Linked DNA regions of Homo sapiens: region 2 is linked to region 1. Evidence: promoter capture Hi-C in 16 types of primary human blood cells and fetal thymus (Javierre and others, 2016). All regions are on one chromosome and are shown on one strand. Each heading gives the region's core, a stretch centred on a gene start or on the middle of the fragment in contact. The rest is flanking DNA. Distances are from core to core; before and after follow the strand shown. Region 1 holds the start of HOXC6 (homeobox C6). Region 2 overlaps LOC105369777 (a long non-coding RNA gene).

Evidence for each region. The method cuts DNA at HindIII sites, captures the fragments that hold promoters and counts their contacts. A CHiCAGO score of 5 or more calls a contact.
Region 2: a fragment that was not itself captured here is called in contact with the fragment with the promoter of HOXC6 in region 1 in 16 of 17 cell types (naive B cells, naive CD8 T cells, total CD8 T cells and 13 more); the score reaches 20.7 in naive B cells.

What each region holds. Positions count from the first base shown.
Region 1 is chr12:54,026,517-54,029,966 of GRCh38, reverse strand. It overlaps HOXC6 (homeobox C6), which reads right to left and starts at 1,527. Exons shown (of 2, transcript NM_004503.4): 1 at 1,046-1,527; 2 at 1-312. The coding sequence starts at 1,445. The coding sequence ends at 5. It also overlaps a transcript of HOXC4 not described here and a transcript of HOXC5 not described here. The HindIII fragment of the contact is 15,214 bases long and covers 1-3,450 here.
Region 2 is chr12:54,198,852-54,201,891 of GRCh38, reverse strand. It overlaps LOC105369777 (a long non-coding RNA gene), which reads right to left. Exons shown (of 3, transcript XR_944984.2): 3 at 1-1,432. Among named protein-coding and RNA genes, the nearest start is that of SMUG1, 11 kb to the right of the region's middle. The HindIII fragment of the contact is 6,102 bases long and covers 1-3,040 here.

The DNA of each region.
Region 1 (3,450 bases), core at 278-2,777:
CTGGTCACTCTTTCTGCTTCTCCTCTTCTGTCTCTTCCCGCTTTTCCTCTTTTCCGCCCAGGCTGTCGGCGGTGGCCCCTCCGCCGCCCCCCGAGAGAGTGGATGTGAGATTAGATTCTTTTTTCCACTTCATCCGGCGGTTCTGGAACCAGATTTTGATCTGTCGCTCGGTCAGGCAAAGCGCGTTGGCGATCTCGATGCGCCGGCGCCGCGTTAGGTAGCGATTGAAGTGAAATTCCTTCTCCAGTTCCAGGGTCTGGTACCGCGAGTAGATCTGGCGGCCGCGCCTCCGGTCCGCTCCGTAGCCGACCCCTAAAGATCCGGGCACAAAACACACTAAAAGCAATCAGCAAAGCGTCCTCTGCAGACTGTTTCGCCTAGCAAAGTCCTGACCCTCCCAACCTGGCCAGCAGCTCACAGCCTCCTTAGGGCTCTAGCCTTCTCCCTTTTGCCTTGCCCCACCCCCACTGGGGGTACAGCGAGGACCCCAACTTCAGACCTCCTATAAGGTGGGACCTGTGTGTCCCAAAGAAAGGTGTGTGGTGGGGGGGGGGGCGGGGGGGCGGGGCAAAAGGCAAACAGAAAGCTGCAAGTCTAAAAGCAGATTTTTGAAAAATCCCAGATAATGGGGATGAGGGCCCCCTTTCTCAAGGACTGGGCTCCCCCATCTCCCCAAGCATCCTAGTTCCTTGGAAACTTCTCCCCACTTATCTGCCTCTCCTCTCCCCCTCCCTTCTCCTCAGACTGACTCCACTTTGGGGGGCTCCCCTATCTTCTGCTCCCTCCCCTCATCCCCTGCCCTGTTCCTGCCCCCTCAGCCCGCCTTGGGGCCCTCCAATCCGTCAGGGGCCAAGGGGGCCAGGCCCCTGCAAGCGAGCGAGAGGCGAGCTGAGGGGGCAGAAGAGGGGGCCCTGTCTCGGTGAGGAGACGAGCGTGATTGTTTTTATGGGGCCATAAAAAACTCTCTCCGCCCGTTCTTCTAGGGAAGCCGGTCATAAAGCCAGTTCAGTTTATTTAATTTATATCTCGGAGCTGTAAAACTCACCACTGTGCGAATTCATTCGCTGCATCCAGGGGTAAATCTGGATACTGGCTTTCTGGTCCTGGGGCGCAGTCCTGCCCTGCTCAGAACTAAAATCCTGAGCGATTGAGGTCTGTGTGTTATGTCCTAAGGTGTTTTGTCTGCAGTTTGAGAGCATGTCTTTCTCCTGGTAAAAGGAATTAGATCCATAGTCATACGGCCCCCGGCTGGAACTGAACACGACATTCTCCTGTGGCGAATAAAAGGGAGTCGAGTAGATCCGGTTCTGGGCAACGGCCGCTCCATAGGTCGAGAAATGCCTCACTGGATCATAGGCGGTGGAATTGAGGGCGACGTTGGGGAGGACGTCCTGGCCCCCGGCGAGGTGGCAGGATAAGGAAGGGTTAGTGAAGTAGGAATTCATCCCTTTGCCTTTACCTGGTCGGTCTATGATTTCTTTAATATTTATTTCTGTCTCCAGTTTGTACTCGGAACTAGATGGTTATAGGGACGGCTCCAATCCAGGACAGACAAAATGACAAAGTCAGCTGACCCCCTCCCAGCCAATCGCAAGCCAGATGTCAGGAAGGGGGAAAAAAATCGCTTCTGCTTCTGTTGATTCCCTAGTTGAGACTAAGTGTGTGCTTTGAAAGTAAGACTTGGATTTCTTTTAAAAAATATATATATATATATATATATGTAAGGGAACTGGTTTGGTGGTGAAGGAGGGGTGCATGTCCCTGAGCAGGGCCTTGGGACTCAGGGAAGGAGAGCTGTACTACCAGGAAATCTCTCAGCCCCAGCTAACTTTGCTGTGCTGTGGCCAGAGCCAGGGCTAGAGAAACCCCTGTATTTTCAATCTGGTTTCATGTTTTATATCTGCCCCCTTCTAAAATTACATCCTGATTTCTCCAAGGGAAGAACTCCCTCCCAGCACAGGAGGGGGGTCCCTAGAAATCCTGCAGGAAATCCTGTTTTGACACTCCATGGAGTGAGTCCCATCACTAAACTAGTATTTTTTTCACCAATAATTAAAAAAAAATCAAAAGTAGAAAGAAATTTCATAAAACCTGTTCCCCTGAGTAAGTAGAGTGTGGCTGAGAGTCTTGAATGTAGTAGGGATGTGGGGAACAACTAGGTCTAAAGGGGCAAGACTTCAGGGTACAGTGGCAGAGCTGGAGTGGGCAAATGGGCCACGCATCTGCTCTCCTTTGCCTCCTGGCTCCCTTCTGCCTCCTTCTCAGGACCCCTCTGTTGGGAAAACTCTTCCAGCATTTTTGCCTAAAAGGGAAAATGTATAAAAAATGCAATAGAAAAAGGAGAAAAAGAAGTAAAATGTAGGGAGGTGGCACCGGAGGGGGAAAGACAGAGAGAAAGAGAGAGAGAGGAAGAACGAAAACTCTGAGAATCTTTCTAGAGACATCAACTCCTGTTTATGTTGGTGAGAATTTATTATTTGGAGCCAGTGAGGGCCTGTGGGGTAATTCACATAGGATCCAGCCAGAAAGAGAAGGCTGGTGGGGCTCTGATGGACAGTTAGCTTCCTGCAGGCTCAAGCCCCTGCCTTGGTCAGAAGCCCCCCTGCCCCCTCCAGACTCAGGGCACCGCCAGTGGAGGCGCCCCTGGACCTGAGCTATGAGGCTTGGAGACTTCAGAAAGGGGTTCTAAGGAGCTCTCACCCAAGTGCCAGTCACCCGTGGTGGGGATGGGCCTCTCAGCAACCTCAACGCCCATTTTATTCCCCCATCTTGGGGCTAAAAAAAGGGAAGAGACGGTTACGAAAAGGCAGCTGAATCCGAGGCTTGTGAGGGAGCCGCAGTAGGCGAACTGAAACAGCGGAAAGTGTGCAGATGGGGGTTTTCTCCTGATTAGTCCAAACTTAATTTGATATCGTGATATAGGCTGAAAATGCCTTGAGTTGACAAAGAAGGGTGGTGGGGAGTGTGCGGGGAGCAGAGAAAGCTCATATCCCCCCCCCCCCACCATTTTTGGGTGGGTTGGGGGGGGGGAAAGCTGGCTATAACAAGAACCCGGATGTCGCCGGATTTTATGATCTTTTCCTTCTGTGTAACAAAGCGGAGTAATCAATGGGTAGCAATAAAGCCATAAACGGGACTATGCTGAGAAAAAACTCGTTTATTCATCTTCTGTAACGTTAAGGTTTCCCTGGAGTGTCGCTAGGGGGGAAAAATAAAGTTTCGAACCCAAAAGCAGACAGTGTGCAGGAGCTGGTGGAGACAACATGTTAGTTAATACATGAACCTCGTTAGGGGGTTGAAGAGTCTTCCTGCCAGACAATTTGTGTTGGTTTTAGAAAATACAGCCCCAATCCTCCAGAAAGGACAGAAATTTGTCGGTATTTGGAAGGGAAGGGGAAAGACTCCTATAATTATAAAGGTTCCTCCTTCTAGATCACACTTTCTTCTCCC
Region 2 (3,040 bases), core at 108-2,607, 170 kb before region 1:
CCATGATGGTCTCGATCTCCTGACCTCGTGATCCGCCCGCCTCGGCCTCCCAAAGTGCTGGGATTACAGGTGTGAGCCACCGTGCCCGGCTTTTTCTTCCTTTTAATGAATGAGGTCACTGAGGCTCTGTGGGGAGGTGTGCCCAGGGTCACCAGATGGAGAGCGGCAGATTAGGAACAGAATGGGGTTAGCCTGTGTCCTCTTCCAGTGCTCCTTCTGGGCCCTACTCCTTCCTGATCAGGTGCCCTCGGGGCTGGGGCTGCCGATTTGGCCTCTCACAGAAGGTGGGGCCCTGGGTTCCCTGTCCTCTGCATCAGCAACCCTGGGCCCCAGCTCTAAGCACGGGTGTGGTGGTGGGAGGTGGAACTGCCTGTCCTGCCTCTGCACGGCCACAAGGGGGCTCCAGGACCAGGTTTTTCTTTTTGCTGGAGCTGCAAGGGTTCCCAGTAATCCCAGCACCCTGAGCTTTTCTGGAAGTGCCGGTTATCCTTCTGAAGCTGCCACTGAAGGGTCTCTGCCAGGCTGGGAGGCCATCAGAAAGGGCGCAGCCTTTGCACTTTATAATCCTATTCCAGAAGTACCTCCCTTTGCTTGGCTAGGAAGTCCTTCCAGTTGTCTACCCTCCATTTCTACTGCTACAGGCCGGGAGAGATGAGGCTGAGTGAGCCACTCTTCTTTCTTTGCTTACTACTCCCCTACCCAAGGCTTGAAGGGAAGTACTTGTTCTTGTCCCCATTCCCTGATCATTAGAGCTCAGACTGCTCTCCTGTCACTGCTAAGGGCTGGATAGACAGCAGCAGGAAAGATGTAAGTTAGACATCAGGAAGGACTTCCTGACAGAGAAGGCCATGGGCTGCTGGGTTTGAGTATCTGAGGAAGGCTGAACAAAGGGAAGTTGGCTGTTCATCTGGGGTGAGGCTCTGGGAAAAGTCCTCTGTGCTCCACACCCCGAAGCTATACATCCCTGGAAGTGGGGAGTGGGGCCTGGGTACAGTTATTTGCTACTGTGTCTCTCCGAACCTCAGGGAACCACAGATATTGCTGGCTCCTTGGGCTTCTGGGATGGGGAGGAGATCTGCGTGGGGGCTTACAAAGGGGTGGAAAGGAAAACACCTGAGCCACTCCCTCCCTTGGCTGGTGACCCAAGGCAGAGGGAAGGATGACATGATGGAACAGTTTGCTGCATCTACTTCAGTTGGCTTTCAGAGCCCCTGTGAGGTCTTCAGCTTCTTAGGTTATCATCAACCTACTGGGCAAAGACTGAGTCATGCGGGTGGAGTGCTTCTTGCGGCAGGTGGGGTGCTTCTTGCGGCAGGAGATGACGCTGCGCAGGATATGAAGGAGTCTGGTCCCCTCTGTTTTCTGCACCTTGACTTTCCAAGTGGGACATGAAATGTCATTTGCCTCTTCTGTCTTCAATGCTGAGGGGACCCTGGGGTCAAGGGAAGAGCAGGCCTTTGGAGTCAGACCTTACCTGTTGGAGCCGCATGGCGGACCGCTCTGTCTCAATCCCCGCATCAGAAGGGAAGGGTGGAATAAGAAATCCTACTTCCCAGGGCTGTGGTGAGCTTTGGGAGACGGCAGATGTGAAAGGGCCTCTGGGGGGGGGGGAGCACAGCACAGCAGGTGCTCCCGCCCAGACTCCTTTGTTCCTGGAGAAGGGGAGATGTGTCCATTTCCCAGATTGGAACATGGTGGCAGGAATGATACTAAGGCTCAAGGCCAGGATCTCTGCTGGACATGCTCCAGAGTCAAAAGTTTGGCCTCCCGCTCCCCTGGCTCCTCCTGTTTCCTCCCCTCCCTCTTCCCACAAGGCCCTTCTCTGGCTCTACTTTCTACCCTGCATCCACCTCTTTTCTTACTTTTTTTTTTTATTCTCCCTTCCTTCTTTCTTCCCCTTTCTCCTTCAGCTCTATTTCCTATTTCCTCTGTTCCTTTACTTTCCTCTCTTCCTCCCTTCCTTCCTTCTTTATTTTTTATGAGACGGAGTCTCGCTCTGTTGCCCAGGCTGGAGTGCAGTGGTATGATCTCAGCTCACTGCAACCTCTGCCTCCTGGGTTCAAGCGATTCTCCTGCCTCAGCCTCCTGAGTAGCTGGGACTACAGGCGCCCACCACCACGCCCAGCTAATTTTTTGTATTTTTAGTAGTGACGGGGTTCCACCATGTTAGCCAGGATGGTCTCGATCTCCTGACCTCGTGATCCGCCCGCCTTGGCCTCCCAAAGTGCTGGGATTACAGGCGTGAGCAACCGCACCCAGCCCCTTCCTTCTTTTACTAAGCATTAAGTTAGGTGAAAGAGATGATCAAGAGCACTAATGCACGTGCTGTACCCCCGATCATCTCCTGAGTTGTTTTCTTCTCAGTCTTTCTTTCTGATCTCCCCACTAGGCTGATGCTTCTGTTCTGTGGGCCTGGGATGGGAAGGAAGTTGATAATAAAATCTGGTTCAATTAAATGTGTGCCTGTATTTGTGTGTATCCTGGGGAGACAGCTGAATAGCACATGGTGGTCCTTGCCCTTGAAGGACTTGTGGCTAGGGAGGGAGGCTGCGGTGTCAGCAGCAGTGTGACAAGTGCTGCCTCAGACGTTTGAATAGGTTGCTGGGATCTGACGAAGAACATCAGAAAAGGCTTCACAGAGGAGGTGATGGTTGAGATGGGTTTTAAGGGATGAGCTGGAGTTTGCCAGGTTCAGCAGTGGGTGGAGAAAAAGGCAGTCCTGTCAGAGGGATTACCACAGGCAAAGACATGTTGCTAAGAAAGGGCAAGGAGAATTTAGGGAACCGGCAGTAGTTCTGTATGGCTGAAGCCGAGGGAGTCATGGGAGACTGAAATCCCAACCCAGAAGGGGAGCAACGATGCCCAATGGTCAGCTCACTAGCCATGCGAGAGTGGTGCAGAACAGGGCATTGCTCCCTGCTAAATGAATGACAAGGGGCAGTGGGAGCTGGGGGTGTGGAGAGGTGTGCCCTGGGCCTTCATCTCCTCCCTACTTGCTGGCTATTCTGCTCTGGGAAACCTACATTAACTGATCCTGGGC